Regions from separate parts of the Homo sapiens genome. Here region 1 is linked to region 2. Evidence: promoter capture Hi-C in 16 types of primary human blood cells and fetal thymus (Javierre and others, 2016). All regions are on one chromosome and are shown on one strand. The core of a region is centred on a gene start or on the middle of the fragment in contact, and the rest is flanking DNA. Distances in the headings are between cores, read along the strand shown.

Evidence for each region. Contacts are between HindIII fragments. The CHiCAGO score rates a contact against its expected background, and 5 or more counts as called.
Region 1: a fragment that was not itself captured here is called in contact with the fragment with the promoter of TXN in region 2 in 1 of 17 cell types (neutrophils); the score reaches 5.3 in neutrophils.

What each region holds. Positions count from the first base shown.
Region 1 is chr9:112,492,213-112,496,751 of GRCh38, forward strand. All of the region lies in intron 1 of KIAA1958, which reads left to right. Among named protein-coding and RNA genes, the nearest start is that of HSDL2-AS1, 6.8 kb to the left of the region's middle. The HindIII fragment of the contact is 2,197 bases long and covers 1,449-3,645 here.
Region 2 is chr9:110,254,075-110,258,539 of GRCh38, forward strand. It overlaps TXN (thioredoxin), which reads right to left and starts at 2,433. Exons shown (of 5, transcript NM_003329.4): 1 at 2,338-2,433. The coding sequence starts at 2,361. RefSeq lists enhancers at 1,625-1,954, 2,697-3,896, 2,825-3,024, 3,065-3,114 and silencers at 2,025-2,274, 2,445-2,684. The HindIII fragment of the contact is 7,662 bases long and covers 1-4,465 here.

The DNA of each region.
Region 1 (4,539 bases), core at 1,297-3,796, 2.2 Mb after region 2:
TAAGCTCAAAGTGTTGGCAGGGTTAGGTTCTTCTAAGGCCCCTCTCTTGGCTGATGGATGGCTGTCTTCCTAAGGTGGCTTCACTTGGTCTTCCCTCTGTGTATGTGTGTGTCCTAATTTCCTCTTAAGAACATCACTTACATTGGATTAGGGCACACACATATGACTTCATTTTACCTTAATTACCTCTATTCCAGGCCTTACTTCCCCTATAAGTCACATTCTGAGGTACCAGGGTTTAGGATGTGAACAGATGAATTTGAGAGGAATACAGTTCAGCCTATAACACAGTCCATCCCTCTACCTACTGCCTTTCATGCATGTATACCTACCTACCTACATATGTACATACATACCTCACTCCACATGTGGGATTTTGTTGGCAATTTTTCACTTGAATCCCAGGCCCCAATACATAGCAATATGATCAACTCTATATATAGTCATTAAAAATAAAGTAGCTAAAGGCTTTTTGTTTTTCACTCTTCATATTCATTGTTTTTAAATGCTTTATTTTTAATGACTTAAAGTACAAAATCCTTTTTTTGTTTGTTTGAGACAGGATCTTTTTCTGTTGCCCAGGATGGAGCGCACTAACGTGATCACAGCTCACTGCAGCCTCGACCTCCTGAGCTCAAGCAGTCCTCTCACCTCAGCCTTCTGAGTAGCTGGGATCACAGGTGCACACCCAGAGCCCAGCTCACTTTTTTTTTTTTTTTTTTTTGTAGAGATGAGGCCTGTGTGTCCCAGATTGGTCTTGAACTCCTGGGCTCATGATATCCTCCTATCTGGGCCTCCCAAAGTGCTGGGATTACAGGCCTGAGCCACTGTGCCTGGCCAAAATTCTTAATAGTTGTTTTGGAATACTGGAGAATATTATTGTGGCCAAATTCAGTGGAAGTGCTAATGCTGTTATTTTCTTCTGAGTTCTGAGGACTTGTTTCTTTTAGTGCTTTTTTTTTTTCAGCTATTGGTCTTGCTGCTCTCATGGTAAGTTATGCACTATTTGTTCTTTTCACGCATGTCTGATGATTCCTGAATCTAATATCTAGTCGGGGCTTTTCTCCTGAAATCCACATCTTTGTGTCCTACTACGACTGGATATATTCACTTAATTTTCCACAAGCATTTCACATTCAACATGCCCCAGACTTATTGTCCTCTTCACATCTGTGTCTTTTCTTTTATTCCTTAGCTCAGTGAGTTGGTACCACCTTCCATCCATTTTCCCAGTCCAGAAATTTAGGAGTTATCTCTGATTCCTTCTTTATTCTTAATCCCATTTTCCATACATAATCAAGCCCCTGGGTCAGTCAGTTCTTGCTGCCCAAGATTTCTCAATTCTGTCTGTTTGCCATATGTGAATCATATGCTACTGTGTTACCTTTGCATTAGTCTTAGTTTTTCATTTAAATATATTCAGTGTGCAACAGAAGTCCTTACGGTAAAGCTTCTGTAATCATCTAGTAGTCTGAAGTTCATTGAATTCTTGTAGTGGCTCATGTGAAATGTATCCCTTGCTTTTCATATTTAACACTGTTTATCTGTGGCTTTTATAGTTCAAGGTCACTTTGACTGAATAAAAATACTTGACTCACATTTTTTTTCCCCTCAACTATCTTTAAAAATGTTACTCTCTTGCAGGAGTTGGCAAACTTTTTCTGTAAAAGACTGAATAATAATTATCTTAGGTTTTATGGATCACTGGTTTCCCTCACAATTACTTAACTGTGCCATTGCATTGCAAAAGCAGCTATAGATAGTGTGTAAATGAACTAGCCTGACTGTTCCAATAAAACTTAATTTACAGAACCAGGCAGTGGGCTGGATTTGGTCCATAGGCCTTAGTTTGCTGAGTCATATTCTATTCTGGTAAAATGTGTTGTTGTCAAACTGTAATACCAATATGATTTTCTTTCTTTAATTTTATCTTTTTGCCTAGATACCCAAGGGCTTTTTCTTCATATTTAAAGCCAATAATTTTACTAGAATGTCTGTTGACCATTCCCTGTTAATTCTCCTAGATACACAGTGTTTTTTATTACATTGGCTCAAGTGTTTTTTCATATTTTCATCAATTATAGTTTTTTAGTAATGTGTTCCATTGTTTTCATTTTCTCTCTTTGGGGCCTCCTATTATATGTATGTTGGATCTTCTTATGTCTATACCTTAGTATTATTTTTTCTTATTTTTTATATTTGCTCTATTTTTATGTTTTTTTCTATTTTATGCTTTAGTGTGTTCAATGTATTTTTCATGGTATCTATCGCTTTTTTTTTTTGACAGTCTCTGTCACCCAGGCTGGAATGCAGTGGCACCATCATGGTTTACAGCAGTGTCAACGTCTCTGGCCTCAGGTGATCCTCCCAGTTTAGCCCCAAGTAGCTGGGACTACAGATGTGCATCACCATGCCCTACTAATTTTTGTGTTTTTTGTAGAGACAGGGTTTCACCATGTCACCCAGGCTGGTCTCAAACTCATGGGCTCAAATGATCCACCTGCCTCAGCCTCCCAAAGTGCTGGGATTACAGGTGTGAGCCACCGTATCTGGTGGTACCTATCTATTAAGTTTAGTGTTCTTTTTAGTTTTCACTTCCTTTCTGAGTTTTTTCTTTCCTGTTCTGTCATGAACTTTGTCATTTCTTATTGTACATCCTCTTGTTATCTGGCAAGATTCATTTTTTAGTTTTTCAATTTCTGATGTATGCTGTTCTTCCATAGCTTCTATCATTTAAAAATTTTTTCCCCTTTTTTCATTTTTTTTTCTTTTTGAGACAGGGCCTTTCTCTGTCATTCAAGGCTCAAGGGATTCACCCACCTCAGCTTCCCAAGTAGCTAGGACTGTGGATGTGTGCCACCACTACCAGCTGAATTTTTTTTTTTTAAAGACAGGTTTCACTTTGTTGCCCAGGCTGGTCTTGAATTCTTGGGCTTGTGATCCTCCTGCCTTGGTCTCCCAAAGTGCTGAGATTACAGGCATGAGGCACTGTGCCTGGCTATTTTCTTAATTCCTCTTATTCCTTTTGAAATATGTTACAGTTCTCATCTTTTTTTCTTACTGTGCTTTTTAATTGTTCTCTCTTGGTCATATTTAAATTAGATGGACTTACCTGTACTTTTGGAGAAGGTTTCTGTGATGGAGATGGAAATTGATAAATACAGTTTTCCTGGTTTTATAGTTTGAAGATTTCCTCCTTTGTTGCTTATCTGAAGTATTTTAAAAATATGGCCACTCAATTAAAATAAAAATGAGGTACCATTGTACACTCACTAGAATGGCTAAATGAGAAAGATGAAAAATACCAAGTATGAGGATGTAGGATAGCTGAAATTCTCCTGCACTGCTATTCAAAGTGTAAATTGGAATGGAAATGTAAAGTGGTACAGCAATTTGGAAAGCTGTATGGCCATATCTACTAAAACTGGACATATGCTGCAAATCCTGTGACTCATTAGTTCTACTGTAAGATCCATACTCACCCAAATATATGGACTAGAATGCTCATAGCACATTTGTCATTGCTCCAAACTGAAATCTGTTGAAATGGCCATCAGTCATTGTTGTTCCCTTCCGCAGTGAGTCTGACTTTGGCTTTGTAACTTGCTCTGGCTAGTTGGACATTAGCAAGCATTATGCAACAGAAGCTTGATAAGCGCTTACATACTCTGGGGAATAATGCCCTGAGACCACTATATAAGGACGTCCTGGAGTAGGAGAGGTTACTTGGAAGAGAATCGTGGTGCCCAGCCAATGACCAGTACTTACTGACAAACTTGAGTGAGGCCATCTTTGACCTTATAGTTTAGCTGACCTTCCTTCCAGCTAAAAGTAGCCATGTGAACAAGTCCAGGTAAAGCCAGAGGAGGAACTACCCAGAAAACATAGAATTGTGAGAAATAAGAAATTGTTGTTTTAAGCCACTAAATTTTTAGGTGATTTGTTATACAGCAATATTAAACTGACTCAGATTGAATAAATACATCATGGTATATTTACACAATGGAATACTGTAGATCGATGAGAATGATAAACAGTCTACAGCTGCATGCAGTAGTATGTATGAATCTCACAGACATATGTTGAGCTAAAGAAGCCAGACAGAGCAGAGTTTATACTGTATGCCTGCATGTATAGAAAGTCCTCAAACAGGCAGAATCATTCTGTTCTGTTAGAAGCCAGAATAGGGGCTACCCTTGGGAGAGTATTGATGAGAATAGAGAAAGTAGAGGCTTCTGGGCTGCTGGAAAGTTTCTGTTTCTTGAACTGGTTGCTGGTTACATAAGTGGGTTCTGTTTGTGAAATTGTGAAATATCAGCAAGTTCACTTATTGCTGCCTTTTTCCGAGTGTATGTTTCAACATAAAGGAAAAAATGTGGCTTCTTGATGTGACCTCCTCTCTGATGTTCTCTGAGATTAACCTCCTCTGGGTATCTCTTTCCTTTATTCCCACTCCTGCCTCTTTGTTTGATTTGGATTCTAGTCCACGGTGTTCTTCCTAAAGCCTCTTAGGTTCTTGTGGTCTCGCGTTCTCCCCCA
Region 2 (4,465 bases), core at 1,183-3,682:
TCACATTTACAGTCAATTATTCCATTCCTCTCTGAAATAGATCCCAGTTGGCCCTAAAGCACCAACAGAGTACCTCAGAAACAGAATTGTTCTGAATGGCAAATGGTGCAAATTTAGCCCATTAGGATGAAAATGTAACATGTATTCAACATTTACAAATAACAGGCTGGGCGTGGTGGTTCACGCCTGTAATCCTAGCACTTTGGGAGCCTGAGGTTGGTGGATCACCTGAAGTCAGGAGTTCGAGACAAACCTGACCAACATGGTGAAACCCCATCTCTACTAAAAATACAAAATTACTGGGCATTTTGGCAGCGCATGCCTGTAATCCCAGCTGTGCAGGAGGCTGAGGCAAGAGAATCGCTTGAACTCAGGAGGTGGAGGTTGCAGTGGGCCGAGATCGCGCCACTGTACTCCAGCCAGGGCAACAAGGGCAAAACTCCATCTCGAAAAACAAACTAACAGACAAATAACAATCAAATTAGTGTAACTTTCGATCAATGACTTTGGATTGTTATTTTGAGGATTAATTGATTATCAGGGCCTTTGGGCCCCAGGCTGTAGTGCTTTTTTTAAAGTTCCTGTCACCCTTGTACACCTTTGTCACTGGTAGAGGAGGAAGGTGCTCTGACATGCTCTGACAACTGGGAGGACTAAACTGTGTGCTCCAGAAATCCTAATCAACTTTGTTTGTAGTGTCTGGATTTTGGGACAACTAACATAGACCACTCAAAGGTCTTCTGGCTCAGTGGAGGGGGTTCTTAGCAGTTGGGTTATACTGAGGTTGCCAGACCCTGGAGAACAGAATCCCAGCCCCACTCCCTTCCCCAGGAATGGATTAATAATTTGTCACACAATAGGTGCTTGGAAAAAAAGTATATGAAAGACAATTCACTACTAAGGATCTTTTCAACACATGAGGGCTGCTAAAATGAGAATCCCACTAAGAAAAAACTGATTGAGAGGAAGATAAAAGATGACAGTGGCAATCAACATATGAGGAAAAAACACTGAGAGTCAATAATAATCAAAGGAACAAAAGGATCGGGGACACATTGCAGACACACTTCTGTTTCCGAAGCCCACCCGGCACCAAACAGGTCAGGGCACCCGAGGCGGGCGAGGACCCGCCCTCCTCTGCTTCCCGCAGGTAGGGAGGGGTAATCGCAGGGTAGGCGCTGGCGAGGGGTCTTCTACCGTTCGAGCAGTATCAATTTCCTCCACTCACTTTTCTGACGCTGCATTTAACAAATATTTCTGGAGTGGCTACATTGGACTAGACACTGCGCGTTAGGCTCTGGGTTTCCCAGTCTACAAGGTTTTAGGCTTGCAATAACTTTCAAACATGGGAAGGCTGTTTCGCCTTGGGCATTTTTAAGAGGACAAAACAACGATCGGGATACCGATAGGTCGGCGAGCAGGCAGCAGGGCGCGGCTGCTCCCAGGAGGAACCCTGGCTCCAGCAAAACCCACCGACTGAGGGTGAATCATGGACGGGCAGGGCAGCCGAGGCCCCCGGGCCCAACCTTGGGGACTCAGTCATTCCAAAGCCACTGCTGCCGGAAACGCGCCCTGCGCCACAGGAGTCCCGTGGGCGCGGCCCGGACCTCACTTCCTCGCGGTCACCTGGGGCCCTCGGGCCTCCTGGACAGACCTGCACGTGCCAGGGGGTCTCCAGCCGCAATCCGCCCCCTTAGTGCGGATACAGCACGCGTCACCTTTGGGGTCGGGCATGGGTGGAGGCAGGCGGGGGTCTCCGGCCTAGACCCGCTCCCAAAGGGAGATCACTACCCCCGCTGCGGGTGGATCACTTCACATACGGAAAGGCAGCGGCGGCCACCGACCCGTGCCTTCTGCAAGGGCCCTCCCTATCCTTGCCTGGGGCCTGAATCTGGATACAGATGGGGGGCCAAGGGCGGACCCCTTCCATTCCCTCATCTTCCTCCAGTCGGGGCTGCCCGGACGGGAGGGTGCAGGAGGCGCAGCGTGGGGACTCCTCACGCTGTCTGCGCTCTCACATCCCCCGGACGCTCCCCGCGTGCGTGCAATCCCCCGAGGAACAGGGTGCGAGAAACGCTGGGCACCGCCACTCCGCCCTCCAGGGGACCCTCGTCCTTCTCCTCCCTTCCTCCAGGGCAGGCTCCACCGCCTCGGGCGCGCCCAGGCCGCTGCTTCCCGCAGTCCCAGGCCGAGACGCCGCGTCCCTTTCCCCTGGCGATGCGGAGGGGCGGCCTCCGCACCTCCCGCCACCGCCTTCCCCACCTCCCGCCACCGCCTTCCCCAGTTACAGAGGCCGCGCGCGGCGCCGGCACCCTGGCCTTCCCCGGTAGCGCGTACCTTGCTCTCGATCTGCTTCACCATCTTGGCTGCTGGAGTCTGACGAGCGGCTGTAAGGACCGATGGAAATGGATCCAAAGCACCAAACAGAGCTTCAAGACTCGCTGCTTGCTCTCTCCCTTTATAAACTGGCACGCCCGGCGTGCGTGTGGCGGGGGCGCGCGCGCCCGGCCGGACCTCCGCGCCCGTCGCTGCGCCCCGGCCACGCCCCGCCCCTGGAGCCTGCGAGCCGGGATCGGGGCGGGGCTGGCGCAAGCGTGGGGCGGAGCTCCAGGGCTTCGGCTCCTGTAACCCCAAGCCCAGCTCGCACTCCAGCTGGAAGTGGGGATCAGCACTGCGCGTGACGGTGGGAGGCGGGGAGACGGACAGTCACCCCCAGAGACACAAGGTCCCTCCCGGGTCACCTGGGGATGCGTCCGCCGGGCCTGAATCGAACACGCCCACGCTCGAGATGGGGACCGCCCAGGCAGGGCTGGATTCCTCGAAAAGGGCCGCCACGCCCCGGCCCCCCCAGCCACGTGAACCCCACAAAGTGCTGAGTAACGGTGACCGGGAAGTATCTCGGTGTGTACGTCCTTGCCTCCTCTCCGGAATTTACCGTGACCGTTCTCTTCTCTGTAACCTCCTTCTGTTCTTTCATTTTCACTGCTGAGCCCGCTGCTCCAGCTTGACACAGCGGTTTAGTGCGGTAGAAACGACCGGGGGACTGGTTGGGCTCTTGACCATCAGACAGCTGCGTGTGAGATGGAAGTGCCACTGGGTTGAGCTCTGCAACTTAGTTACGCAGTTGTGACCCTGGAAAGGTCCTGACCTCCTGAAGTCTCAGTGTTTCCTTCTGTAGAACGGGAATCATGATGGTCTCAATCTCACGGTGGTGGTATTTTGAGGGTTAATAGTGCTTGCAAAGGACGGTGCTTGGCACATAGTAAACACTCCATAGATAGTTCTTACTGTTCGGTGTCTTGCAGGGACTGATTGGGCCTGGCCACCTTATACAGCATTTACAATGGCACAGCACGCACACTTGTGTGAGATTCTTCTAACAGAGGCAGACTCCTGGAACAGAAGTCGGAGTTTGCATTGATCCAGGAATGCCTGTTGCAGGTTATGTCTGGCAGGGCTGGGGATTGTGGAAGGTGGGTATGTTAGCTGGCCTTGTGGAGCCAGGAGGGCCTGTCAGCGGCTGGAAGTGGAGGTTGAAAAGCTGCTCACAGGAACGAGAGCTAGAAGGCTGGGAGGGAGAGTCCCAGGTCTGTGTTTTCAGAGCTGAGCTGTTCCCGATGAAGCTGCAACTAGGTGTGATTGCCTAGGGGTGGTGATACTGCTGCCTGGCTGCCCCCTGAAATCCCTGGCTTCCTTCTTTCACTCTTTCAGACAGAGGAAGGGAGGAAACCAGAGGTTTTGAATCTATTGTGCAAAGTTTCTAGGGGGCTGAGGAGCACGGAGCATGAATATGGATATAGGCAAGGGACACATTCTAAAGACAGCCCATAGGGAGGGAAGACAGACTGCCCTGAATGCAGCAATGTTCCCAAAGAGAGGGAGGTTATTGGGGCAGAGAGGAAGGAGCTGTATGGAGCACCCAGAGCAGAATCTATAACCTGCTTTTCTGCTGCTGGGTTTTCAGTTCAGCTGCATCCCAGCTTCCTGACTTTTATCTGTTTGTTGGTGAATTTGCATGGGTGATAACAACAAATCATTGAGTTCCAGGAAGGGGCAATGCAGGCCATCCTCAGCTGACTTCTCTCCAAAGACCTTCCAAATGTCCAGTGACTCAGTGAAGGAGGTACTCCCTCTCTCCCACCTCCACAGCACCAATGCAGAGTAGATGTGGAGGATGGTACAGTTATAAGGAACTGGGAGGCCAGTCTGGACTCTGCAATTTGACTCCGTTGTCCTCATCCCTACTCTACCACTTCATGACTGGGTAACTCTAGGCAAGTCTAAATAGCCTTTTTGTGCCTCAGTTTCCTTATGTGAGAAGTGGGCGTAATAATAGCTTGTGCTATTATAAGGGTTGAGTGAACTAAAATATATGTAAAATGCTTAGAACCGTGCCTGGTGTGTAGTGAATGCTACATGAACTATGATTATAGGCTATTAAATGAATGATGAGATCCATCTGGAA